Regions from separate parts of the Homo sapiens genome. Here all the other regions are linked to region 1. Evidence: promoter capture Hi-C in human tissues and cell types (Jung and others, 2019). All regions are on one chromosome and are shown on one strand. Each heading gives the region's core, a stretch centred on a gene start or on the middle of the fragment in contact. The rest is flanking DNA. Distances are from core to core; before and after follow the strand shown. Region 1 holds the start of BMP2 (bone morphogenetic protein 2). Region 2 holds the start of FERMT1 (FERM domain containing kindlin 1). Region 3 has its middle 23 kb from the start of FERMT1. Region 4 has its middle 15 kb from the start of MIR8062. Region 5 has its middle 41 kb from the start of FERMT1. Region 6 has its middle 12 kb from the start of LINC01751.

Region 1 (4,402 bases), core at 1,366-3,865:
ATCTCCTGAGAAACTGCCAAGAGATGACTGAAATGGAATAGCAACAACCTCCTTTATGTGGAATCATTATCTGGTCATCTTTGCTTTTTTACATAACTTGTCTGTACCCTCTGATGCATTTGAATTTGCAACTTCTACTATCCCTATCTTAAACAACTCCCCACTCCCACCTCTGCCCCTTCCACATTTGCTGGCAGATGCACTAAGTCTGATAAACTCAGCAAGACTGAATCTCACCCTCTGAACTGAAAAACTTTGAATGGACCTTTGAAAACGGTAGAATTGACAATGGTTAGCTGCAAGTGATATTTTCAAGGCAAACAGACACTCTCCCAAAGTATTAAATAACCCAGCATTCTAAGTTGCAGGTGGAAGGTAGCCATTAGTGAAGAGAGAGAAAAAAAAAAGAAATAGCTCGTCTGTATTTAGATTTATCATTTCTGACTATTGCTCTTCCCTGGAAAACGGGTAGGTACAGTCATCCTGTACTTCGATCCCAAATCAGTCTCTGGAGACTACTTATTTATTTATTTATTTATTTATGGACTTCTTTCTTTCAAGCGTTCGAACTCATTTCCACCACAAGAGGGCAGCCATCTCTAAAAAAAAAAAAATAGGGCCAAAATTTATGTAAGTTGTGCTTGGAACAAGCATTCAGTAGTTCCTCAGAAATCATACACCCTACATAAAAGAGATTCTGCAATGGGCAGCACTAACATGAAACAGTGTTCAGAAGTACCCATTTTCCCTCAGATTCTAAACTGACAAGGTTTCCACTTACCAGGTTATGAAGTTCTAAAGCTGCAAGACATCCTTGAGGTCATCACAGGATATTTATTTATTTTTTCTTCGGGTGCATCCAATAGTTATCAACTTTTCCTCCTCTTTAAAAGCTACTTAAATCTCATTGAAGTTTTGTTTTGTTTTGTTTTTGAAATCTAAGTAATGAGAGAAACAATTGTTAACTTCTCAATTAAACTTGATAGGAAAGGAAATAATTTCAGAAGCCCTGTGTCCATGAGTAGGATATGTTTTATTGCCTCCTTGTTTGCGGTGCAATGACTCTGAGTGACAATCAACTTCTATAGCACCTTTTTTTTTTTTTTCAGGAAATAAAGTAGCATGTTCCTGAATAATTCCCCCACCCCCTTTTATTTTCCTGGTAGTCAGGCTTCCTCCAAAATACCTTATTTGACCTTTATACCTTTAGAAACAGCAAGTGCCTAATTCGCCTCTGTGGGTTGCTAATCCGATTTACGTGAGCGGAACCTAGTATTATTTTAGCTCCCCTACCGAAAAAATAATACACATGGATAATAGTTCTATTACCAGCTCCTGCTTCTGACTTTTTTCTCTCTGTTTCGCAGGCCCGATAGCTCTGGGAAAGCAGAACTTGGCCTTTTCCAAAAATTTTCTGCCCTTGGTTTTGGGGATCATTTGGGCAAGCCCGAGGTGCTGTGCATGGGGGCTCCTGGAATCCTGGGAAGGGCAGAAAGCCTTGGCCCCAGACTCATCGTGCAGCAGCTCTGAGCAGTATTTCGGCTGAGGAGTGACTTCAGTGAATATTCAGCTGAGGAGTGACTTGGCCACGTGTCACAGCCCTACTTCTTGGGGGCCTGGTGGAAGAGGGTGGCGTAGAAGGTTCCAAGGTCCCAAACTGGAATTGTCCTGTATGCTTGGTTCACACAGTGCGTTATTTTACCTTCCTCTGAGCTGCTAATCGCCTGCCTCTGAGCTGGGTGAGATAAATATCACAAGGCACAAAGTGATTGTACAATAAAAAAATCAAATCCCTCCCATCCATCCTTCAGTCTGCCACACACGCAGTCTACGTTACACACATGTCACGTAAAGCAGGATGACATCCATGTCACATACATAGACATATTAACCGAAATGTGGCCCTTCGGTTGCATATATTCTCATACATGAATATATTTATAGAAATATATGCACATATTTTTGTATATTGGATATATTTATGTAACTATAAATTTACATGCGTATGGATATGAAAATAAATGCATACACATTTATGTAAAAAAATTTGTACACATGCATTTACATATGTAAATACATACATCTCTATGTATTAATGTTTAAAAACACTCAATTTCCAGCCTGCTGTTTTCTTTTAATTTTCCTCCTATTCCGGGGAAACAGAAGCGTGGATCCCACGTCTATGCTATGCCAAAATACGCTGTAATTGAGGTGTTTTGTTTTGTTTTGTTTTTTGAAATCGTATATTACCGAAAAACTTCAAACTGAAAGTTGAATAACGGGCCCAGCGGGGAAATAAGAGGCCAGACCCTGACCCTGCATTTGTCCTGGATTTCGCCTCCAGAGTCCCCGCGAGGGTCCGGCGCGCCAGCTGATCTCTCCTTTGAGAGCAGGGAGTGGAGGCGCGAGCGCCCCCCTTGGCGGCCGCGCGCCCCCGCCCTCCGCCCCACCCCGCCGCGGCTGCCCGGGCGCGCCGTCCACACCCCTGCGCGCAGCTCCCGCCCGCTCGGGGATCCCCGGCGAGCCGCGCCGCGAAGGGGGAGGTGTTCGGCCGCGGCCGGGAGGGAGCCGGCAGGCGGCGTCCCCTTTAAAAGCCGCGAGCGCCGCGCCACGGCGCCGCCGCCGCCGTCGCCGCCGCCGGAGTCCTCGCCCCGCCGCGCTGCGCCCGGCTCGCGCTGCGCTAGTCGCTCCGCTTCCCACACCCCGCCGGGGACTGGCAGCCGCCGCCGCACATCTGCCGCCACAGCCTCCGCCGGCTACCCGAACGTTCTCGGGGCCAGCGCCGAGTGGATCACCGGGGACCGCGAGGCACCCGCGCGCCGCAGACCCCGCGCGGGCTGGAGCACCCGGCAGAGCGCGCCACAGCGCCGTGGCCTCTGCTGCCCGGGCTGCGCCAGAGCCGCGGACGGGCGCGCAGAGCGCCGGGGACTCCGGAGCCGATCCCTAGCGCCGCGATGCGGAGCACCTACTGCAGGAGATCGGGGGCCTGGGACGCGCTGGCCGAGGTGTGATCGGACCCCAGGCTAGCCACAAAGGGCACTTGGCCCCAGGGCTAGGAGAGCGAGGGGAGAGCACAGCCACCCGCCTCGGCGGCCCGGGACTCGGCTCGACTCGCCGGAGAATGCGCCCGAGGACGACGGGGCGCCAGAGCCGCGGTGCTTTCAACTGGCGAGCGCGAATGGGGGTGCACTGGAGTAAGGCAGAGTGATGCGGGGGGGCAACTCGCCTGGCACCGAGATCGCCGCCGTGCCCTTCCCTGGACCCGGCGTCGCCCAGGATGGCTGCCCCGAGCCATGGGCCGCGGCGGAGCTAGCGCGGAGCGCCCGACCCTCGACCCCCGAGTCCCGGAGCCGGCCCCGCGCGGGGCCACGCGTCCCTCGGGCGCTGGTTCCTAAGGAGGACGACAGCACCAGCTTCTCCTTTCTCCCTTCCCTTCCCTGCCCCGCACTCCTCCCCCTGCTCGCTGTTGTTGTGTGTCAGCACTTGGCTGGGGACTTCTTGAACTTGCAGGGAGAATAACTTGCGCACCCCACTTTGCGCCGGTGCCTTTGCCCCAGCGGAGCCTGCTTCGCCATCTCCGAGCCCCACCGCCCCTCCACTCCTCGGCCTTGCCCGACACTGAGACGCTGTTCCCAGCGTGAAAAGAGAGACTGCGCGGCCGGCACCCGGGAGAAGGAGGAGGCAAAGAAAAGGAACGGACATTCGGTCCTTGCGCCAGGTCCTTTGACCAGAGTTTTTCCATGTGGACGCTCTTTCAATGGACGTGTCCCCGCGTGCTTCTTAGACGGACTGCGGTCTCCTAAAGGTAGAGGACGCGGGCCAGGGCCCGGGGTGGGTGGTGGGTGGGAGGGGGATTTGGGCAGCCACTGCGGTAGAGCCCTTCCTTACGTCCAGGCCAGAAGTAAACAGACCCCTCTCCAGTCCACGTGCAACGGAGCCCTGCAGGGGCTCCCACTTCCAGCTGCCCCGGGCGACCGTAAGCCTCACCCTCCCGGCCCGCACTCTTCCACCCCTCTTTCTTCCCCTCTCCCTGGAATACTTTTGGAGCTGTTAACACTTAGATGAGGTGTTTTATTTATTTATTTATTTATTTTTAATTTTTTTAAAAACTTTTTTGGGTCAAAGAAATCCCTTTGAGAGGGTAGCCCCTGGGTTTCACCCGTTAGCTGAGAACCTGTCCGCTCTGCCATGGTGATCTCCATTCTTCAAGTGTTTCCGGGAGACTTGGTTTCTTTGCTCAGAGCCGTGTCCCATTTAGGAAAGTACTAGGAGTTTGGGGTTCTCCCTACTTGTTTCCAGAAATGCGAGGGGTCAGTACTGAAGGATCACTTGGTACTGTGTTTTTAACAGCTGACACGTGCATTAATAGATATTCACCATTTACGTAATCCCGGGAAGATAC
Region 2 (4,402 bases), core at 592-3,091, 640 kb before region 1:
CTTAGCTCACTGCAACCTCTGCCTCCCGGGTTCAAGCAATTCTCTGCCTCAGCCTCCCAAGTAGCTGAGATTACAGGCGTGTGCCACCACGCCCGGTTAATTTTTGTATTTTTAGTAGAGACAGGGTTTCACCATGCTGGCCAGGCTGGTCTTGAACTCCTGATCTCGTGATCCACCTGCCTTGGCCTCCCAAAGTGCTGGCATTACAGGCGTGGGCCACCACGCCCAGCCGTTCCTTATGTTTCTATAGTCAGAAGCATGCAACGATGCAATGCATCTCCTCCCCATGCACAGAGATCCACACAGAACCCTCTGCATGAGGAGTGCCACTCAGTGACTGCATTAGGCCTAACTGCTTGCCTCTGTCATCATCAGCTTCAGGTATCATTTATTACCTACTGACTGTATGATGTGCTCTGTGTTAACTCCTGTCTTCTGTTATCCCTTTTTCATCCTCTCAGCAATCTCATTTAGAAATGAGGAAACTCAGCCTCAGAGAGATGAAGCAAGTTGCCTGAGGTCACACAGCAAGTTAGATGCTGGAGCCCAGGTGGAAATCCAGGTCTGCCTTTCTATTTCAAACTCTTATTCACCACACTGGGAAACCACTTTGATAATGTTGCAATGCCAAAATGAAAGAAAACTCCTCAAACTACGTGAACTAAATTCTCAGTAGCCTTTACTAAGCATTTCTATCAACACAAATCTTGCGCAGTGAGGAGACAAAAGATGCCCCTTCATCGTCAAACTCATAACTTGGCATTGAACTGTTCGACTTTAAGATCCTTACAATTTCTTAAATGCTATAATTGTGAAGTCTAGTTATTTAAAATGTTTTGTATATAAAGAAAATAACTTTTAAAGGTGATTCCTTACTGCTTATTTCACTGGGCAATCTGATATAAGGTCTTTTCCTAACTTGGGTGATCAAAACACTACTCATTCAGGCAATAGATGCTGATTCCCCTTACAACAAAATGCAGGCTAAAATTAGCCAAGCTGGTTTTCCTGCATTCCTTTCCTATCTTTCTGTGCCTTCATTTTTGAGTGAACGTCTAGTCTGCAGCAAGCTGTTACTTGTCAAGGATAGCAGCAAACTTCAGCCGGGAAAACGCATCTAAGGAGACCAAAACAAGAAGCAAAGTTACTGGCAGAGTGCTGAAAAGCCCTTCGCAGACAGTCAAAGAAACGAAAGCATGGAGGGATGGAGAGCAGGAAGGAGGAAAGATGAGGGGGAAACAGTCCCCGACCCTTCCCCTGGAATATCTGAAGGTGCTTGGTGTTCGAAGGCCACCCGACCTGTCTTTTGCCAGCTCTGCAGGATCCTGGGGCGGATGTTGGGTGGATAAAGCATGCCCCTTACTCCCATTAAGGCAGCACCTGCGGCTGAACTGAAAGTTTATTTTGCGGCCAGATGCGTAGGGCCGGAGAAGGTGGTCACATCCAGACGAAATTATTTTCAATCAACAGCTATTTAAGTACAAGAGGCTGCAGAAAGAAAGGGGCTAAGGGGGCTCAGGAGCCACTGGTGCCCATGAAAGCCTCCCAACCTCTAGCTCCCCAGCCCTAGCTCCGGAGCACCCACCTCCTTTCCAGGAGCCCGTAGCGTCCAGCCTCGCAGTCGCGCACGTGGAGAGCTGCGTCCCTACAAACTACCCCGGGCCGAGCCGAGGAGCGGGCGCTGGCGAAGTGGGGAGCGGGGGGCGCCCAGTGGCGGCGGCTGCTCAGCTAAGGCTGCGGCAGGTGAGGGCTGGAGCCAGGGCGAGCAGGCGAAGCTGCCTCGGGACCTCCCACGGAGGCTCGGTGCCTGCCCCCAGCCTGGCGCGGCGTGCCCGGTGCACTGCACGGCCCCAGCGGCCCGGCTGAGGGCAGCGCGCAGCGTGGCAGGCGAGGGCACGCCCAGCCCCGGGCCTGCTAGGTCTCGCTCCCGCGGAGAGGAGGCGCAGTCTGCAGATTTTTAAGGGCAAAGGGTGGCCGAAGGGCTGCTCGGCGGAGAGAAGGCGGCGAGAACCCGGGGCGCACGCTCAGTATCTGCAGCTCCTCTTGCGATGTCTCATCCTGACGCTTTAAGGCCGCCTCCAGTTTCCCTGTTCCCCCAGGCCCGCCGGGGACTAGCCCAGATGATTAAAGCCGCGCCACTTCCCCTCCTTTCAGGCATACCCATCACTCACACCCCGGGGTGCGTCCAGGCCCAGGAGACTCCAGCCTCCCGCCTAGAACAGCTGCCTCCCTCAGAAAGAGCCCCGGAGCACTTGTGGTCAGGGAGGTGAAGGCAACGACAAAACGATTCGTCTCTGAGTAAGAGGGTGGTGTCAGTCTCCAGAAGGCTGAGGCTCCCGACCAGGGGAGACTCCAGGAGACCCAAGGGCAGGCTGCATGCGGAAGTCTGGGCCACACCTGGTATGGCTCACCTCAGGATCACCACCGGTCCCGCCAGTCGCCTTCCTGTTGGATTTATTTTCAAAGAGGGCTGGGGCCACCCAGGAAGGGTGGGTGACCTGGGCAGTTTACACAACCTCTCCAAGCCTCCTTTGTTCATTTAATCACATTTGTTGAGTGCTTACTGCTCTACAGGCCTCCCAATGGGCCTGGGCTCAGAGAATACAGTGGTTAATAAAACAGACATGGAAATGACAGTTTCCTCATCTGTGAAATAGGTACAGAGATAGAATGCGTGCTCTTCCACGGAGGGATTTCATGCAATATAGTACAGGCTTTAGCGATTTGCATTAAAAGGCTTGTGAACACTTAAATTTTAATAAAGAAGTTATAAAATTTAGAAGTTGAATCTGTTTTCGCTTAAACATTACCATATTCAGGAATTATTATGGGTTTGAAAGTACATTTAATTTAAAAAGGTTAGTTGAACATTGTTGGCAAATATAGGATATTATAATTGAAATAAAATCATTAAAAACTTGAAACAGAATGTCTTCACTTGGTAGCGTTTGTCAACGATGGGAAGGGTCATCTGGTCCCACTTCCCTACCTCTTAACATCATGAAACCCTGCTTATGGCCCATTAGAACTTAGACTGTGGTCAGTGCGCGCGCGCGCGCGCGCACAAACACACACACACACACACACACACACACACACACACATATATTTTTTTGAGATGGAGTCTTGTTCTGTCCCCAGGCAGGAGTGCAGTGGCACGATCTTGGCTCACTGCTGCACCCTCCGCCTCCCGGGTTCAAGTGATTCTCCTGCCTCAGTCTCCCGAGCAGCTGGGACTACAATTTTTGTATTTTTAGTAGAGACCAGGTTTCATGATGTTGGCCAGGATGGTCTTGATCTCTTGACCTTGTGATCTACCTGCCTCGGCCTCCCAAAGTGTTAAGATTACAGGTGTGATCCACCGTGCCCAGCCTGTGGTCAAGATTTTATGTGTGACCTTGAATTATGGCTCTATCTATTCATACCAATATGGTTTTTCTCTTTTCAATTGAAAATATCTGCATTGTGCTAAAGAATTCGACTGGTTTTAAGCGTTCTTCTTGGCCTAGGTTAATTTTTAAACTTGTAATTTTATGTAGTGACTTGTGTGTATATAAATGTGTATCATATATATACACACCCATACATATACACAATATATATAGATAAGAGCACAAATCGTGAATGTATAGCTGATGAGTTTTCGCAAACTGAACACACCTGTATACAGAGTATATAAAGACACTAGCGTATAAAGAGTGCCCAGTTGAAGAAACAGGACATCACCAGTCCTCGGAAGCCCGTTAGTGACCCCTTTTAGTTATTCCTTTCAGTTATGATCACTGCCGCTGCCTGCCCCTACCCCCGACCCCAGGCCCAGGATAACCATTATCTTATCTTCTAACTCCTCAGAAGGGTTTTGCCTGTCTTTGTACTTTATATAAATGGAATCAGACCATGTGCACTATTTTGTGTCTGGCTTCTTGTGTTCAACATTATGTTTGTGAGTTTTATCCATATTATGTGTCCTAGGCTTTTTTTTTTTTTTTTTTTTTTGAGAAAGGGTCTTGCTCTCCCCCAGGTCAGAGTGCAGTGGCATGATCATGGCTCACTGCAGCCTTGATGTCTCAGGCTCCCAAGCTGGGACTACAGGTGTGAACCACCGTGCCTGGCTAATTTTTAAATTTAGCTGCCTGAGCTGGTCTTGAACTCCTGGGCTCAAGCCATCCTCCCATCTTAGCCTCCTAAATTGTTGGGATTGCAGGTGTGAGTCACCATGGCCGGCTGTCCTAGGCTTTTAATTTAACTTTATGTTTTACTTATTACACGGTTACTGTCGTTTGTGTGACACAGGTCCAACCCATCCCCCAAGGTCCTGGGTTAGAAGTGGGTTAAAAAGTGTATTCTGAACTTCAAAATTTTGTACATATATATTAAAAAAAGCACACCCTTTGCCCCCTTA
Region 3 (4,402 bases), core at 1,406-3,905, 620 kb before region 1:
TTAAAAAAAACTTTTGTTTGAAGTTCAGGGACACATGTGCAGTTTCATTATATAGGTAAACTTGTGCCATGGGGGTTTGTTGTACAGATTATTTTGTCACCCAGGTATTAAGCCCACTATCCAATTGTTATTTTTCCTGATTCTCTCCCTCCTTCCACCCTCCACCCTCCAATATGCCCCAGTGTGTGTTGTTCCCCTCTATGTGTCCATATGTTCTCATCATTTAGCTCCCATTTATAAGTGAGAACATGTGGTATTTGGTTTTCTGTTCCTGCATTAATTTGTTAAGGGTAATGACCTCTACCTTCACCCATGTTCCTGCAAAGGACATGATCTCATTTGCTTTTATGGCTGCATAGTATTCCATGGTGTATATGTACCACGTTTTCTTTATTTTTATTTTGAGACGGAATCTCGCTCTGTCGCCCAGGCTGGAATGCAGTGGCGCGATCTTGGCTCACTGCAAGCTCCGCCTCCCGGGTTCACGCCATTCTCCTGCCTCAGCCTCCGGAGTAGCTGGGACTACAGGCGCCCGCCACCATGCCTGGCTAATTTTTTTTGTATTTTTAGTAGAGACCGGGTTTCGCTGTGTTAGTCAGGATGGTCTCGATCTCCTGACCTCATGATCCGCCCGTCTCGGCCTCCCAAAGTGCTGGGATTACAGGCGTGAGCCACCGCGCCCGGACCCTGCACCACGTTTTCTTTATCCAGTCTGTCACTGATGGGCATCTAGGTTGATTCCATGTCTTTGCTATTGTAAATTGTGCTGCAGTAAACATATGTGTGCATGTGTCTTTATAATAGAATGATTTATATTCCTTAGAATATATACCCAGTAATGGGATTGCTGGGTCAAATGGTATCTCTGTTTTTAGGTCTTGGAGAAATCACCACACTGTCTTCCACAATGGTTGAACAAATTTACACTCCCACCAATGGTGTAAAAGAGTTCCTTTTTCTCCGCAACCTCACCAGCATCTGTTATTTTTTGACTTTTTAATAATGGCCATTCTGACTGGTGTGAGATGGTTTCTCATTGTGGTTTTGATTTGCATTTCTTTAATGATCAGTGACCTGGACCTTTTTTTCATATGATTGCTGGCTGCATGAATGTCTTCTTTTGAGAAGTGTCTGTTCATGCCTTTTGCCCACTTCTTGATTTTTTTTTTGTAAGTTTAAGTTCTTTATAGATGCTGGATATCAGACCTTTATCAGATGCATAGTTTGCAAAAATTTTCTCCCATTCTGTAGATTGTCTGTTTACTCTGTTGATAGTTTCCTTTGATGTGCAGAAACTGTTTAGTTTAATTAGATCCCATTTGTCAATTTTTGCTTTGTTACAATAGCTTTTGGTGACTTCATCATGAAATCTTTGCCCATTCCTATGTCCTGAATGGTATTACCTAGGTCATCTTCCAGAGTTTTTATACTTTTGGGTTTTACATTTAAGTCTTTAATGCATCTTGACTTAATTTTTGTATATGTTGTAAGGAAGGTGTCCAGTTTCAGTTTTCTGCATATGGCTAGCTAGTTGCAGCACCATTTATTAAATAGGGAGTCCTTTCCCCATTGCTTGTTTTTGTCAGGGTTCTCAAAGATCAGATAGTTGTAGGTGTGTAGGCTTATTTCTGGGTTCTCTATTCTGTTCCATTGGTCTATGTGTCTGTTTTTGTACTAGTATCATGGTGCTTTGGTTACCGTCACCCTGTAGTGTAATTTGAAGTTGGGTAACGTGATGCCTCCAGCTTAGTTCTTTTTATTGCAGACAATCTTGAACATTTTATTGCAGACAATCTTGAATCTGTACATTCATCTCCACTTTGAAATTAAGGTAGTTACCAGTTCAATTATAGATCTTCTAGTATGTTAAAAAAGATGCACATGTATTACTACATCACACATTTGTTTTTAAAGTATTTTAATAACTGCATTAAAGTATTTTAGTAACTGTATTCAGTGGAATTAGTTTCATTTGGAGTCATATGTCTGTGATTTTATGCACTTGAAAGTGTTATCCTGAAAAAGGGTCCACAGGCTTCACCAAACTGACTGCAGGCAGAATAATGGCTACCCAAAGATGTCCCTGTCCTAATCCCAAGAAACCGTGAAATGTTAATGTTATGTCGCAAGGAGGAATTAGGGTTGCAGATAGAACTAAGGTGGCTAATTAGCTGACCTTAAGATGGAGAGATTAATCCTGGAGCATCAAAGTGTGACCAGTGTCACCACAAGGGTCTTTATAAGTGAAAGAGGGAGGCAAGAGAGTTGGGGTCAGAGTCAGAGAAGATGATGTGGTGATGGAAACAGAGATGGGAATAAAGTGATTGCTGGCTTTGAAGACAGAAGGCGGCCATAAGCCAGGGAGTGTGGCAGCCTCTGGAAGCTGGAAAAGGCAAGGAAACACCTGCTGATGCCTTGATTTTGGCCCCACAAGACTTGTTTGGACTTCTAGCCTCCAGAACTGCAAGATAGTAAATCTGTGTTGTTCTAAGCCATTGAATTTGTGATCATTTGTTATAGCAGCCATAGGAAACCCATGCATCAACAAAGAAGTCAGTGGCACAAAACAGTTAGAAACCCCCTGTGTTGAGCCTAAAGATCAGAGAAGAATAGTTCCATGTGTGGTGGAGGTAGGGGAGGCGGTGAATTAAGGATTTGCCTATTGCTGCATGACAAACTCCTCCAACATAGCAGCTCAGTAAACATTTATTATCTTATAGTTTCTGTGGGTCAGGAATTTTGGACTGGCTTTGCTGGCTGGCTGTGGTTCTGGGTGTCTCATGATGTTATAGTCACATTGTCAGCTGGGGCTGCCATTGTTGGAAGGCTGGACCAGGGCTGAAGAATCTACTTCCAAGTTGGCACACTCACATGGCTATGGGCAGGAGGCTTCTCGTCCATATTGGTGTTTGGCAGGAGGCCTTATTTCCTCATTACACGGGCCTCTTCTCAGGGTGGCTTGAGTGTCCTCACAACATGGCTTCCGGTTTCCTCCACCTCTTAAAGGAAGTAGTATTAAAGAAGCTATGGACATATTTTAAAACTACTACACCATTTCCCTGTCTGTTTGCTCCTTTAAAAAAATTTCTGTGAGCAAATTGATACCAGGAGAAGAAACCAAGATCATTTGGATACAGAATGCAAATGATCGACAAGACTTATATCTAGAAATTTTCATTTTTATTTAATCTACTTAAAGCCTTAATTAAATAAAATTACTTAATAGTAATTGAAGTCTTAAAGCAAAGAAATAAAATTCTTCTTTGTGGAAATTCTGTCTTTACCCACTTGGCCTGGAACAGTTTTATTAAAAATAAACTTTTAATTTCAGAATATTTCATAGTTTCAGGTTAACAGAAAAGTTGCCAAGATAGTATAGAGAGATCTTGTATACTTCACACTTAGGTTCCCCTCATGTTAATGTCTTACATTACTATGGTACATTTGTGACAACGAGTGGACCAATATTGATATACTACTATTGACTAAAGTTTATACTTTATTTGGATTTCATTAATTTTTTTTTTTTTTCTCTAGACAGAGTCTTGCTCTGTCACCTGGGCTGGAGTGCAGTGGCATGATTTCAGCTCACTGCAACCTCTGCCTCCTGGGTTCAAGTGATTCTCCTCTCTTAGCCTCCCAAGTAGCTGGAATTACAGGCATGCACCACCAAGCCCAGCTAATTTTTGTATTTTTAGTAGAGATGGGGTTTCACCATGTTGAACTCCTAGCCTCAAGTGATCTGCCCACCTCTGCCTCCCAAAGTGTTGGGATTACCGACGTGAGCCACTGCACCTGGCCAGACTTCCTTAATTTTTACCCAATGTCAGAATAGTGCATTTTTAGAGTGGAGTTTTCTCCAGGTATCTCTGATATCTTAACAGTATCAGGGCTTTTTGAAAAAGCAACAAAACCAAGATGTGCTGTGGCATAGAGGACAACAAACTCTGGGTAGATTTGAATTTGAATCTTGCCTGTCATTGCCAGCTGCAGGTCCCTAATCAAGTTACTTCTCCTTCCTCACCTCAGTTTCCTCATCTGTAAAATGGAACTGAGGATACACGATGGGAAGACCAACAAATCTTTACAACAAAACTTCACAACAAATTTGTTGTGAAGATCAAACAAATTCATGAGTGTGAATCAGCTTGGATAATTTTTGACACATTAGCCGGTTGGGGATAGCTATTACTGTGTGGAACTCAGGGTTTGCTGAGATAATCTGGCCCAGAACAAGATCCTTCCTATACAATGTGGAAAGTGCAGAGTCCCCATCTGGGCCTGGGGATAATGAATAAGGAAGGCCTCCTGCAGAGGTAGCATGAATTGTATCTAGAAGAATGGGTGAGAGTTCGGTGGAGGAAGGGGCCCATGCAATGGGAAGAAGATATCTGGGAAGAGG
Region 4 (4,402 bases), core at 994-3,493, 620 kb after region 1:
CCCTTACTATACGTTAAACCAAAGCAAGTATGGTATTTCTAACTTGTTCACTGTAGGTCACCTTTTGGTTCAGTTTTCAACCAACTAACCAATCAAACAAACTGTTAGAGTCCTTTCAAATTCACCCCAATCTGAAACAGTGAATGCAGATTGTCTGCTTACTGACTTCAGAGCAATAAATTCCATAAATAAAGTCCATATCAAATTCATCCTGCTACAACTTTATGTGTCTTCTATCACTATCCCACACCTTTAATATCTTTTCCACATATGTTTCTTGAATTTTTGTCAACATAAATTAGGAAACTCAAGTAATTCTTTTGGAGTATGGCACATCTCCACTTGGGTCACACTTTGTTTCTCACCTTTAAGGACCTGATCAGACATGAGTCTAATTATAGATCTAGAAGGAGAAGGGTAGTGGGATGGGACTTGAGGAAAATCAGCATTGTCTTGAATGGCAACTGCCTCTGGAGGGGCCGCTACCATTTCTCTGGAAATCAGATTAATCCTCACAGATAGAAGTGGAGATACCACTCTAACTAGGGATGAAACTCATTAGAATGTAGTGCTCCTACTTGTATTCAACATAGTTCTGGAAGTCCTAGCCAGACAAATCAGTCAAGAGAAATAAAAGCCATGTACTTTGAAAAAAAGGAAATCAAACTGTGCCTCTTTGCAGATGATGTGATCTTATACCTAGGAAAACCTAAAGACTCCATCAATAAATTCTTAGATATAATAAATAAATTTAGTAAAGAATAGAATAAAAAATCAACATGCAAAAATCAGTAGCATTTCTATCACCAAATAATGGACTAGCTGAGAAAGAAGTCAAGAAGGCAACCTCAATTACAATAGCTATAAAAATAATACAATATCTAGAAATAAATTTTACTAAGGAGGTGAAAGACCTCTATAAGAAAAACTACAAAACACTGATGAAATAAATTGGAGAAAACACAGAACTTGGAAAGGCATGCCATGCTCATGAATTGGAAGAAATAATATTGTTAAAATGACCATACTGCCCAAATAATCATCAGATTCAATGCAATTCTTATCAAAGTACCAATATCATTTTGAACATAAATAGAAAAGATAATCCAAAAATTCACATGGAACTAAAAAAAGCCCAAATAGCCAAAGGAAAAAAATCAGTATATCAAAAGGATATCTGTACCTCCATGTTTATAGTAGCACTATTCACAATAGCAAAGATATAAAATTAACTGCAGTATCTGTTAATGCATAGGCAAAGAAAAGTGGTATATATACACAATTGAATACTATTCAGCCATATAAAAAAGAATGAAATCGTGTAATTCTTAACAACAGGAATGGAACTGAGAGATCATTGTGTTAAATATCATAAGCCAGACACAGAAAGATACATTTTCCATATTCTCTCTCACTCATATGTGGAAGATGAAAAAAGTTGATCTCATGGAGGTAGAGAGTAGAATAACAGATACCAGAGACTGAGAAGGGTGTATGAGTGGGAGTCGGGGATAAGGAGAGGTTGATTAGTAGGTACAAACATACAGTTAGATAGAAGGAATAAGTTCTAATGTTCGGTTGCAGAATAGGGTGACTACAGTTAACAACCATGTATCGTATTTTTCAAAATAACTTGAAAAGAGAACTTGAAATGTTCCCAATACCTAAAAATGATAAATATTGAAGGTGACAGCTGCCCCAAATAACCTGACTTGATCATTCTACAGTCTATGCATGTGATACAATATCACATGCACCCCACAAATATGTACAAATATTATGTATCAATAAAAATAATTTTAAAAATAAATTTTAAAAAGAATTAGGTGTTCAACATCTCCAGCTCCAACAGGGTCTTATGATTTCCATTCATCTTTGTAATCTCATTCTTTTCCAATCAGTGTCCTCACTTTAACATTCCACACTCTGCAAGGCTGTGAGTTTAACTAATTTTGTTATTCATTCAGTCATAGAATGAGATTCTGGGTTGGTTTCAGTAGTCTCAGCCCTGCAGGTACAGGAAATGAGGACCTCCTTCAGGGCATAAATAGAAATTTACAGGTAATTCATGCAGAACTTGAGTTGAGAATTTGAATCCTTGTCTCATTTTGTTTTCCTACTTTGTCCTGCAACATTAGAAGCAAACAGCAAATCTCATTATATTCATTAGTTTGACAAAAATGTTCAAAAGTATCACATACATAATACCCCGGGTCCCTGTTTCTTATAAGTGGTTGATTAGGAGTATTCAATGGTGATAATTTTGCATATCTTTTTTCAAATCATGTCATATTCTATCAGTGCTGTCTTTACTATTGGAAACAGAGTCATCAGCATCTTTAAATCTAATCAGATTAAAGAGGAAATTCTAAAAACTAGAGACCCAATTTAGAAGACTCATCTTTAAAATTATGTTCCTTTAGAACCTCTCTTGGTACCAAAATCTGCATTCGGGTTTTTAGGTCTTTCAGAGAAATAGAAGCAGTTGGCAAGCTGGAGAAACAGTACAGGCAATGGTACAGTTACATTCCAAATGTTAGTATACTCAAGACCTAGAAAGATCCAACGTTTCAGTTCGATTCTGAAAGCAGGAAGAAAAATAATCAATGTTATAGATTGAAGACAGTCAAACAGGAAGAGTTCTCACTTATTCACAGGAAGGTCAGCCTTTTTGTGATATTCAGGCCTTCAACAGACTGGATGAGCACTCCCTGCCTCCCGCCGCCCCACCCCACATTAGGGAGGGCTATCTTCTTTAACTCTATCTGCCAACTCATGTGTTAAACTTATTCAGAAATGCCCTCGCAGACATACACAGAATAATATTTGATCAAATATCTGAATACCTCATGGCTCTGTCAAGTTAATACACAAAATAAAACATCACAACATCTTATATGTACTATGCATTGTACTAAGCATTAGGCACACTGATGTGGATAGAACACAGTTCCTTGTGTTCCAAAAGGTCACACTCACTGGGCAGAAACAGATATATGTATGATTCAGTATCATGAAAGTCACAAAGTTCTCCTTGAGAATACATTCTCTTTGGAGGGCTAGTGGTATGCTTCACAGAACATGCAGCATTTGAAAATGAACAATAAGGGACTTGATTGAAAATGATATTAATACCATGTGTCTTATCTTGGCTTCTCCAAGAGCAGACCCTTAGATAAGCATTCAAGTGCAAGACGTTAATTTAGAAAGTTCCAGAAACACCAATGGTAGAGTAAGGAAGTGAGACGAGGAAGATGAGGAAGCCACTGTAGAGTGAATTACTAAACTACTCTGGGCAATTGAAGCTTAATCACTGAGGGAATACAGAAAAAAGTGTTGACTATACTCCTCAAGTTTGTTGTTTCTCAGGAGTAAAGAAGTGTATTTTGTATATCAACACTCAGTCATTCATTGAGAGCTACTTCTATAGTAAGTGTTAATCTCTTGGTATTCCTGCCTTTCCATGTGCAAAGCAGAGGGGACTCTGGTGGCTAGACAAAGCTCCCAGGCAAAGAGATGCAAGGATTAATATTTGTTACTCAGATTTGCAAACTGTGAAATGGCAAAGCCTGGGGAATCGGGAAGAATTCCCAACAGCATTCCTTACAACAAAGCTGGGTATTAGGATTTTGTTCAGTAGATATTGGAGTTCCATTAAAGGTTGTTGAATGTAGGTTAAACAGAAAGTAAAAGATAGCGAAGGAAAAAATTGGCACCAGTAGCTCAGAGACAACCTGATATTTCATTTCTCTCACCTTTCACCTATGGCCATTCATTTCACTTTTTTTTTTTTCTATCTCATGAGCTTTTTTTTTTTTTTTTTTTTTTTTACCAACACTATTTGGACACTGAAACCATGATCTCACCTAGATATTTACTTTTGTTTCACAGTTGTCATTGAAAGTCCCTGTACCTAGCTGTTAGCCATTGTCCTAACATGTTTAACTGTGAACTTCAGCAAGGCCCACATTTTAAATTTCAAGTCTTGTCTGGAACCATATTAGGACCTTTATAATTTGAGTTCATACTTCCTTTCTTTTGCCACACTAGCCACACGAAATAACCTTACATAACCCCTCCATTCCAGCCACACTAATCTTCTCTTCATTTTTCTTACTGTATATCCATTCATGCCATAGTGACTTTGTACATATTCTTCTCTTTGCCTGAAAATTAGGTCTCTGGTTTTTCAAATAGTTATGTCTTCAAGTACTCATAACACACACACACACACACACACACACACACAGAGATGTATGTGTGTGCATGTATATATTGATTATATAAAATACATATGTACATATATAATATATATTGCGTGTGTGTATATATATAATATATATTATAAATATATATGCATATTATGTGGTACATGCAAAAAATACTTGCTTAATGAAGAGCA
Region 5 (4,402 bases), core at 605-3,104, 600 kb before region 1:
ACACATCAGGGCTGAAACTGGAGCCACATTTAGGTTTGTGAAGCACATCAGGGTAGATGTTTATGTCCTAGAATGAGGGTGGTCTAGTGGATCGCATGGGCATGACGTTAGAAGATTTAGATCTGGCTTGAGGGAACTGTCACTGACTCAGGAGACATCCTTATTTGTTAGATGGGAGTTGCTGAATCCAACACAGAGTGTCACGAAAGAACAAATGTGACAATGAGAAGTGTTACAAGGTCTTTCTGTCAGTGTTAAGACAGCTACACTTCACTTCCCTGGAACCAATGCCTCTGGTGTGGCAGAAAGAAGGCTTCAGCTTTCTGTGGCATTGGCTTTCTTGGCTATCCTTCCTGTCTTTTTTGACTTGCTCCCTTATCATGTAGTCAGCTCTACATTTATTAAAAAAGCAGTAGCCTGGTGCCAGGATTCTTTCAGGCTGCCTCTCTCTTTCTCTCTCTCTCTTTCTCCTTTCTTTCTTTCTTTCTTTCTTTCTTTCTTTCTTTCTTTCTTTCTTTCTTTCTTTCTTTCTTTCTTTCTTTTTCTTTCTTTCCTCTCTTTCTCTCTTTTTCTTTCTCTTACACACACACACACACACACACACACACACACACACACACTTCAGCGTTGGACTCTGGCCATCAGAAACATGCATTCTGTCAGTTTAAAAGGGAGTTGACAGGAATCATTGTGAAAACACACTTGTTCTGGAATCTGGGCTCATGGAATTTGCTCCTGCTGGACATTCCCTGGACCCGGAGTGATGCCAAAGTAAGGCAAGGCCACAAGCAGCCCCACTTTGCCTGACCTTTCCTCACTCCATGCCTGTGGGGCTTGGAGAGCAGCTGCGGAGGATTGGGTGACTTCCAAAGTCAGCTCTTGAGAGCAGGTTGCCAGGGAATTCTCTTGAACAGGGCCGTCCAAGGGATGGACACATTTCCTGGTCCTGAAGCAGAGAAATTAGAAGCAAAAATAGGCATGGAAAGATGCTCTGCCCAAAAGAAGTCCCCCCTCTCTTCCCCAGGAGTTGAATAACAGTTCTCTTTCATTTGGGTATATTTTACTTTTAAAAGCTTAATTTAGTCATTTTTAACAACAAAGTAGAATAGTTCAGAGATTTATAAAAACAGCAGCAATAACAACAAAAAACTTTGCTGCAGTGTTTGCTTTTCCTGCAGGCCCTCCTGGTGAGGCTGCTCTTTGAAGCACTTACACAGGTTCTCACAACTCTGCTTGGGCCACCTTCCCAAAAGCAATGGCCTTTTATGCCCCCAGGTGACCCATCGCCCCCACCTTCTTCATTCTCCTGATCTATGTCATTGTCCCACTTACTTCTCCTCAAGGCAGGAAAAGGGCTGTGGGATGAGCTCATTGATATCATTCAGGTGAGCAGCAGACTCCTTTGTGTCCAGGTGAGAACATGGGATGGCTCCTTCACGTGGTTTGGGAATAAGTGTAGACTCCTTTTCCACTTTTAGGGAACCCTTGCTCAGTTTCCTGGGAAGAGTTGGGATAAGAACAGATCCTAGGGATGCTGATAGAATCCATCTGCAGTTGGGGTCTTACCAGCTCAGGGCTTGTCCCAGATAAAGCCTCCGGGGAAGGAAGTGTGGTTCTTTTGCTCCCTCTGCTTTAAAGCACATGTCCTGAAAATTCCCATTGGCATCTTCTTCCTTTTCAGTCCCTTTGCCTCTCGTGGACATGAGTTGCCTGTGTGTATTTGTTTATGTGATTATTTGTTTAGGGCTTAGGGTTTGCCATTCTTTTGTGCTAGGCTCTAACAGGGGTCTTGATCACTAATCATTACTGTGTCTTTGGGGTCTAGTATACTCCCCAACACATAGTAAATTCCTGAATACCTCAGTGGCATTGTTTTAATTTAATCCTCACATAATTTAATAGAGCCTAGGAATAGCTCTACCACTATTCCCATTTTAGGGATGAAGAAATTAAGACTTTGAACAACTCACTCAAGTCCCCCAAATGAAATCTAGATCTGAGAGTTTGATTCTTAAGCCCATGTTCTCAATGGACACCGAAAAATCCTCCTACTAGGCAAGGGAGTGAGAGAGAAAATGAACACAATATATGATCATATGAGAACTCAACGGGAACAGAAAGACAAAATATACCTGAAGGACCAGGAAAAAGGAGGGCTTACAAATGTATTTCAGGCAAGAACTTTCTGGAAGACCCTTTCAAGTGGCAAGCACCTACTCTGAACCGCTTTTGGTCAGACTGCTCACGTTAATATTCATTTTGGTGAATCAGAGTTAGAAACTTTTGTCTTTTGGCAATCATTGGAATTTTGAAAAAAAAGTTCTATAAGTGGATCTAAAGATTTGATAGTTTATTTCAATGAAATTTTTTTTTGGCTAAAAATGTGGGTTAACGGTCTATTTCAAATGTATTTGACATTGCAGCCTTTAAGTGATACTTTACCAGCTAGAATTCAATTTGCTTACTTAGGGGAAGGGTAGGCACTATCATTTTTTGAGCATGCATTGTATGCCAGGCCCTTCACATTGAACCATGTTAGGACATCTTTGAAGACAGACTGTATCTCCTCCCTTGCTTGACTGTCTCCTACAGTGCTCAATAAGTGGCTGGGGTTGAGAGGTCCAGGAAAAATTCTGACTTCTACCTTTGGTAATCCCAGGCAAATCTTGTGATCTTTGCAGGGCACCATTTTCTTCTGAAATGAAGGAAGGTGGGGGAGGTAAGGTAGATGGATCTTTAAGGATTCTTCTGGGTTAAAAGTTCAGAAAGTCTGTGATTCCAGATGGGTGTTCTCGTCCTTCTTTCACAGTCCTTTCTCTTTAGGAATCATGGAAGGGCCAGAGAGGCAAAAGCACTGTTCAGCTAACACCTGCACAGCTTGGCTGACAGGTGGGCCCTGAGAATGAACAGCGTCTGTGTGTGCTGGCCAAGTGCTGAGCCTGCAGCCTGCAGCTGGCCTTCTTGGCTTCTGTCGACCCCTTGGCTGCCTGAGTCTCCGGCAACTGTTCAATCATTTGTTTTTTCCCCTCCGAAGAGACAGTCAAGGGTGCTGGGGGGCTTGTTGCTTTGGGAATTCTGCCACATTTACAAATGCCTTGTAACCCTTATTGAGTGACAGATTTATTTGACAATTTTTGATAAGTGGGTTGTTTGCGACTTGCTGACGGAGGGAATTATTTGTAATTCCAACTTGAAAGGCTGGCCATCTGAAAGCCATGACTAAGCGAGCACATGTATTAAAAGGTCATTCATAGTTGCTTAACATCTTGGCATATATCATCTTCTGATCTCTGTTTTTATTGTTTTGATCTCAAAAAGAAACTTTAAAAAATGTGAGATGTGGAAATTGGGAAGTGACAGAACTATTTATGGTCCCCATAAGCAGCTGACCTACTTCAGTGACAAATGTTATAAACATGTCGTGTTAAAAGCCCAATCTTTTGCTCTCAATTCTAATTACTTGGAATTCACTGAACTTGAGGGACCCTGGATTTTGTTTCCTGCTGGGATTTGGTAATGGCGACATTCTGACTTGGCAGAGTGAGAGCCACTCTGCTGAGTCACAGTCCTCTTAACTTCATCCAGGTCTCTACAAATCTAAGAACTAGAATTTGGTCACTTTGCAGGTGTCTGGAACTGTTCCCAGTGCCTATTGCTGAGTTAGGAGACTGACCATAAACTTTTTGCTTTAAAGAAATGCAAAGCATGTTCTTGTCTCCCACCAGGGTGCTGCTTCTGAAAATTGAAGTGTTTTGTGTCCTGTACTGTTAAAGGTTGGTTCTGAGGCTAGTTGATCAGCTGAGCTCTAAGCAGTTTATATGGATTTTTCTCATTTAATCCCCAACATACCCTTTGGAGATAATTGCTGTTACTGGTCCCATTTTCAGGTGAAGGCTGGTTAGCTAACTTGGCTTAAGTCATTCAGCAAGTAAACAATGGAGCCAAGATGTAAAGTCTGGGAGGTCTGATGCCAGGACTTGTATTATTATCCATGATTCATTCAAGTTAAAATGACTCTAGTTCTTGGCCACTTATACCAGGAAGCCACCTGGGAGATGTGTACAACTGGTCATGGTTAGGGAAGAGGGAACATGTGGTAAAGACCATCAGATGGAAGAAGGGAGCGACCCAGAGCAGCTTCTTCCAAGTTACTGGAAAACCAACCAACCTACCTACCAACCTAAAAAATCAGGGTGAACTCATCAAGATGTAGCATAATTTTTGTAGAAAAAGTACATTACTTTGGGGTTCAAAGACCCCCAAATAATATGAATATCTTGTTCCTAAAAAAAAATGGACAGAAGGAAAGAATAAGATTTCAGAGGTGGAAGCCAGGCTACAGACTAAGAACAAAGTTGTGGGCTAGGCTCATGCCTGTAATCACAGGACTTTGGGAGGCAAA
Region 6 (4,402 bases), core at 950-3,449, 530 kb after region 1:
ACAGCACCTTGATCTTGGATTTTTCAGCTTCCAGATCTGTGAGAAATAAATTTCTATTATTTAAGCCACCTAGACTATAGTATTCTGCTACAGAAGATTGAACAGACTAAGACATCTATTAATGATTTTGATGCCCCTAACTTTACCAAAAGCATTGGCATCATAAAAAGAGAATGATTATTAATACAAATGGATCTTTATTTTTTTTTAAAAAAAGGAATGACAATACATTTTTTTTTTTTTTTTTTTTTTTGAGACGGAGTCTCGCTCTGTCGCCCAGGCTGGAGTGCAGTGGCGGGATCTCGGCTCACTGCAAGCTCCGCCTCCCGGGTTCACGCCATTCTCCTGCCTCAGCCTCCCAAGTAGCTGGGACTACAGGCGCCCGCCACTACGCCCGGCTATTTTTTTGTATTTTTAGTAGAGACGGGGTTTCACCGTTTTAGCCGGGATGGTCTCGATCTCCTGACCTCGTGATCCGCCCGCCTCGGCCTCCCAAAGTGCTGGGATTACAGGCGTGAGCCACCGCGCCCGGCCGACAATACATTTTTCACCAACATTTTATACAACTATTTTCAGACATAAGCCAAGTTGAATAAATTTTACAGTAAACACTTGCATATCAACTACCTAGACTCTAACATGAACATTTTTCTATATTGCTTTTTCACAAACCTATCCATTTATCGATCCCTCCATTTTTCTATACTTCATCTTAGTTTTTTGTACATTTTAAAGTAAATTGCAGATGTCAGGATGCTTTCCCCTAAACACTTTAGCAAGCATATTATCAACTACATTTCAATATGTCTTTTGAAGTGGAATGGAATAGTAAGCATATTTTAAATACATAGACCTGTGTAACCCAAACCTCTATCAAGGTAGAGAAAATTACCATCATCCCAGGAAGTTCCCTAAGAGCAATCTTCTGATGTTTTTCACCATAGATTTATTTTAGAATTTTATATAAATGAAGCTTATTGTACTCAACATAAGATTTCCAAGACTCAGACAATAATATAGACAGTGGTGCTTTCAAGTCTGCAGCAGTTTTGTTCCTTTTCTGGAGTCTGCCCTTTCAGAAGAGCTCATTGCTCCTCCCCTTAGTTCTTCTTGCTCCTCTTCCTACCCCCTGCTCAGTTTGTATCTCCTTTCTTTTTTTCTAATAAATACAGTTTCTTTTAAAGTTCTAGATGTTGTCATTGCTCTTACTTTGAATTTCTATAAGGGCTTGTAAAGCATTAGGATGCTCACACATCAGGAGGAACAACGTTTTATTCTTTACCATTGAACTAGTAATACTAGTTTTTCCTTTTAGGATGACTTCATTGAGTATATATTAAAAATAATGGAAAAATAGCAAAAAGGAAAGAACATATGTGATGAATCCGTGACCTCATGATATCTTATTGAGGCTGGGAGCATTTGAGGTCTGAGATTTTCTGGTATGCTCAAGGCCAGAGCAGCAACATGCATCCTTTCAAAATAAGGCAAGTTGTCACTTGTCTCTGGCCAGAATTGGTCAAGATCATGGGGTAGGTGATGAATGCTGCCGACGTCCCATGACACAGCTATTGATATGTGGCAAGGAGCCACTCATCTCTACTAAGAGATGGCATGTACCAGAGAGGGGCTGTGGGAGTAGATGACTGTCCACCAAGTAGTGTGTAATTCAAGGGATGTCTCAATGTCAAGAAGTTACCTTTGACGTCACAGATTGGCCAATGCCTTCATGTTATAGCAGACCATCATATTAGGAAAAGTCAGTCTTTCTAGATTGAATAAGGACAAGTCCAGGGTAAGCGACTACTCTAGAAACCTAACCTGTAATCTGAAGAAATGAAAAGTAAAATGTCCAGCAATAATACTTCGGGGGCCTTAAACCTCATATTTTCTTGAGCATCTTGTTTCCTGTTTAATTGTCACAGCTCAAATATTATGTTTTGCAAATGTATGTGGGGTGTATTTTATATGTTATACATATTAATTTATTTTCATTTATTCTGCTTGAAAATTTTTACATAAAATTAAAGTCTGTCATAATACTTTATCTTCTGTTTGTGGTTAGAGTAGGTGTCTTTACTTTCTTTATGATCTCTTTGTTCAGGTAAGAAGGGCTATACTGGAGTGAAATCATAACTTTAGTTACATCGTAACATTAGAAACGGGCACACTCTTGTAAACAACTGCAACAAATGGAGATTATGCTTACAGCATAAACCTCAGACTTGTGGGTATTTTCTTCTTTATGTTTTAATAAAAATACCGGAAAGGAAAGGTTTAAACTCACTAGAGTTATTTTGAGAAAATCGATTTCCATAAATATATTTTATTGCTCACTCATAAATTTATACTTCCCTTTCTCTCACTGCATAATTGGTTGGTTTCCTGCATACAGTTTAGCTCCATCGTTCATGTTTTGATAGGAATTTTATCCCTGGTATTTGTCTGTTCCAGCCATTCTTTCTTTCTTTTTTTAATTCATGAAGCCTTTTTAAAAATTATTTAATTTTATTTTTATTTTAAGTTCTGGAGTACATGTGCAGGATGTGCAGGTTTGTTACATAGGTAAAAGTGTGCCATGGTGGTTTCCTGCACCTACCAACCCATCACCTAGGTATTAAGACCAGCGTGCATTAGCTATTTTTCCTAATGCTTTCCCTCCCCATGCCCTCACCCCCCACAACAGGCCCCAGTGTGTGTTGTTCCCCTCCCCGTGTCCATGTGTTCTCATTGTTCAGCTCCCACTTACAAGGGAGAACATGTGGTGTTTGGTTTTCTGTTCTTGCATTAGTTTGCTGAGGATAATGGCTTCTAGTTCCATCCATGTCCCTGCAAAGACATGATCTCTTCCTTTTTATGGATGCATAGTATTCTATGGTGTATATGTACTATATTTTCTTTATCCAGTCTATCCTCGATGGGCATTTGGGTTGATTCCATGTCTTTGTTATTGTGAATAGTGCTGCGATGAACATACACATGCATGTATCTTTATAATGGAATGATTTATATTCCTTTGGATATATTCCCAGTAATGGACTTGCTGGGTCAAATGGTATTTCTGGTTCTAGAACTTTGATGAATTGCCACACTGACTTCCACAATGGTTGAACTAATTTACATTTTATATTTACTATTCTAATTTACTATTTTCTAATTTACTATTTCTCTACAACCTCACCAGCATTTCTGGTTTCTTGACTTTTAATAATTGCCATTCTGACTGGCATGAAACGGTATCTCATTGTGGTTTTGATTTGCATTTCTCTCACCATCAGTGAAATTGAGCTTTTTTTCGTATGTTTATTGGCCTCATGAATGTCTTCTTTTGAGAAGAGTCTTTTCATGTCCTTTCCCCACATTTTAATGGTTTTTTTTTCTTGTAAATTTGTGTAAGTTCATTGTAGATTCTGGATATTAGACCTTTGTCAGATGGATAGATTGCAAAAACTTTCTCCCACTCTGTAGGTTGTCTATTTGCTCTGACGATAGTTTCTTTTGCTGTGCAGAAGCGCTTTCATTTAGTTAGATCTCATTTGTCAATTTTTGCTTTTGTTGCAATTGCTTTTGGTGATTTCATCATGAAATCTTTGCTTGTGCCTATGTCCTGAATAGTATTACCTACATTTTCTTCTAGGCTTTTTACAGTTAGTGTTTTACATTTAAGTCTTGAATCTAACTTGAGATAATTTTTGTATAAGGTGTAAGGAAGAGGTCCAGTTTCAATTTCTTGCATATGGCCAGCCAGTTCTTCCAGCACCGTTTATTAAATAGGAAATCCTTTTCCCATTGCTTGCTTTTGTTAGGTTTGTTGAAGATCAGATGGTTGTAGATGTGCAGTCTTATTTCTTAGTTCTCTATTCTGTTCCATTGGTCTATGTATCTGTTTTTGTACCAGTAGCATTGGTCAGCCATTATTTTAGTAAAAAGCTGAAGCTCTTCACTACCTGAAGAATAAAATCCAAAATTCTTAGTATGGCATTCAAGGCTTTCCAGAAGCTGGCACGAAACTGTTTTTCTAATTTTTCTTCTGCTCCAGTATTTCTTCCCAGTTTCCTTCCACTTCTTTCACAGTTCCCATCATTCTTGCATTCTTTGTTGTCTCTGTGTACAATAGCTTTTTTTTTGGTACAATTTTATAACACTATAGTTAGGGGAGTGTATATCCACCTACTTATGTTACTGGTGGCTTCTGTGTCAGGAAATAATCTATAACCTACCTACTTATTCTTTTGATGTAGATGACCTACCCATTCACCTTTTTAAAGAATGTTTGTAAATTGTGGGAAAATATACATCATATAAATTTTGCCATCTTAACCATTTTTAAGCATTACAGTATAGTGCCATTAAGTACATTTACACTGTTGTTCAATCATCACTACCATTCATCTCTAAAATA

The links. Contacts are between HindIII fragments. The study calls those that stand out against the background at their distance.
Region 2: a contact is called between the fragment with the promoter of FERMT1 here and the fragment with the promoter of BMP2 in region 1, in 2 of the 25 tissues and cell types used here (IMR-90 fibroblasts and heart right ventricle).
Region 3: a fragment that was not itself captured here is called in contact with the fragment with the promoter of BMP2 in region 1 in 1 of the 25 tissues and cell types used here (dorsolateral prefrontal cortex).
Region 4: a contact is called between a fragment that was not itself captured here and the fragment with the promoter of BMP2 in region 1, in 1 of the 25 tissues and cell types used here (dorsolateral prefrontal cortex).
Region 5: a contact is called between a fragment that was not itself captured here and the fragment with the promoter of BMP2 in region 1, in 2 of the 25 tissues and cell types used here (dorsolateral prefrontal cortex and hippocampus).
Region 6: a fragment that was not itself captured here is called in contact with the fragment with the promoter of BMP2 in region 1 in 1 of the 25 tissues and cell types used here (dorsolateral prefrontal cortex).

Annotation. Positions count from the first base shown.
Region 1 is chr20:6,765,071-6,769,472 of GRCh38, forward strand. It overlaps BMP2 (bone morphogenetic protein 2), which reads left to right and starts at 2,616. Exons shown (of 3, transcript NM_001200.4): 1 at 2,616-3,805. LOC105372517 (a long non-coding RNA gene) reads right to left here and starts at 2,414. Exons shown (of 4, transcript XR_937229.2): 1 at 2,251-2,414; 2 at 1,330-1,735; 3 at 782-938; 4 at 523-599. RefSeq lists promoters at 1-3,670, 2,480-3,121, 2,511-3,670, cis regulatory regions at 1,584-2,374, 2,381-2,480, 3,121-3,295 and silencers at 2,560-2,609, 2,700-2,749. The HindIII fragment of the contact is 20,905 bases long and covers 1-4,402 here.
Region 2 is chr20:6,121,189-6,125,590 of GRCh38, forward strand. It overlaps FERMT1 (FERM domain containing kindlin 1), which reads right to left and starts at 1,842. Exons shown (of 15, transcript NM_017671.5): 1 at 1,586-1,842. RefSeq lists a silencer at 1,728-1,847. The HindIII fragment of the contact is 15,378 bases long and covers 1-4,402 here.
Region 3 is chr20:6,143,436-6,147,837 of GRCh38, forward strand. No RefSeq gene overlaps it. Among named protein-coding and RNA genes, the nearest start is that of FERMT1, 23 kb to the left of the region's middle. The HindIII fragment of the contact is 5,496 bases long and covers 1-4,402 here.
Region 4 is chr20:7,384,137-7,388,538 of GRCh38, forward strand. No RefSeq gene overlaps it. Among named protein-coding and RNA genes, the nearest start is that of MIR8062, 15 kb to the left of the region's middle. The HindIII fragment of the contact is 3,332 bases long and covers 578-3,909 here.
Region 5 is chr20:6,161,647-6,166,048 of GRCh38, forward strand. No RefSeq gene overlaps it. Among named protein-coding and RNA genes, the nearest start is that of FERMT1, 41 kb to the left of the region's middle. The HindIII fragment of the contact is 6,503 bases long and covers 1-4,402 here.
Region 6 is chr20:7,293,469-7,297,870 of GRCh38, forward strand. No RefSeq gene overlaps it. Among named protein-coding and RNA genes, the nearest start is that of LINC01751, 12 kb to the right of the region's middle. The HindIII fragment of the contact is 7,428 bases long and covers 1-4,402 here.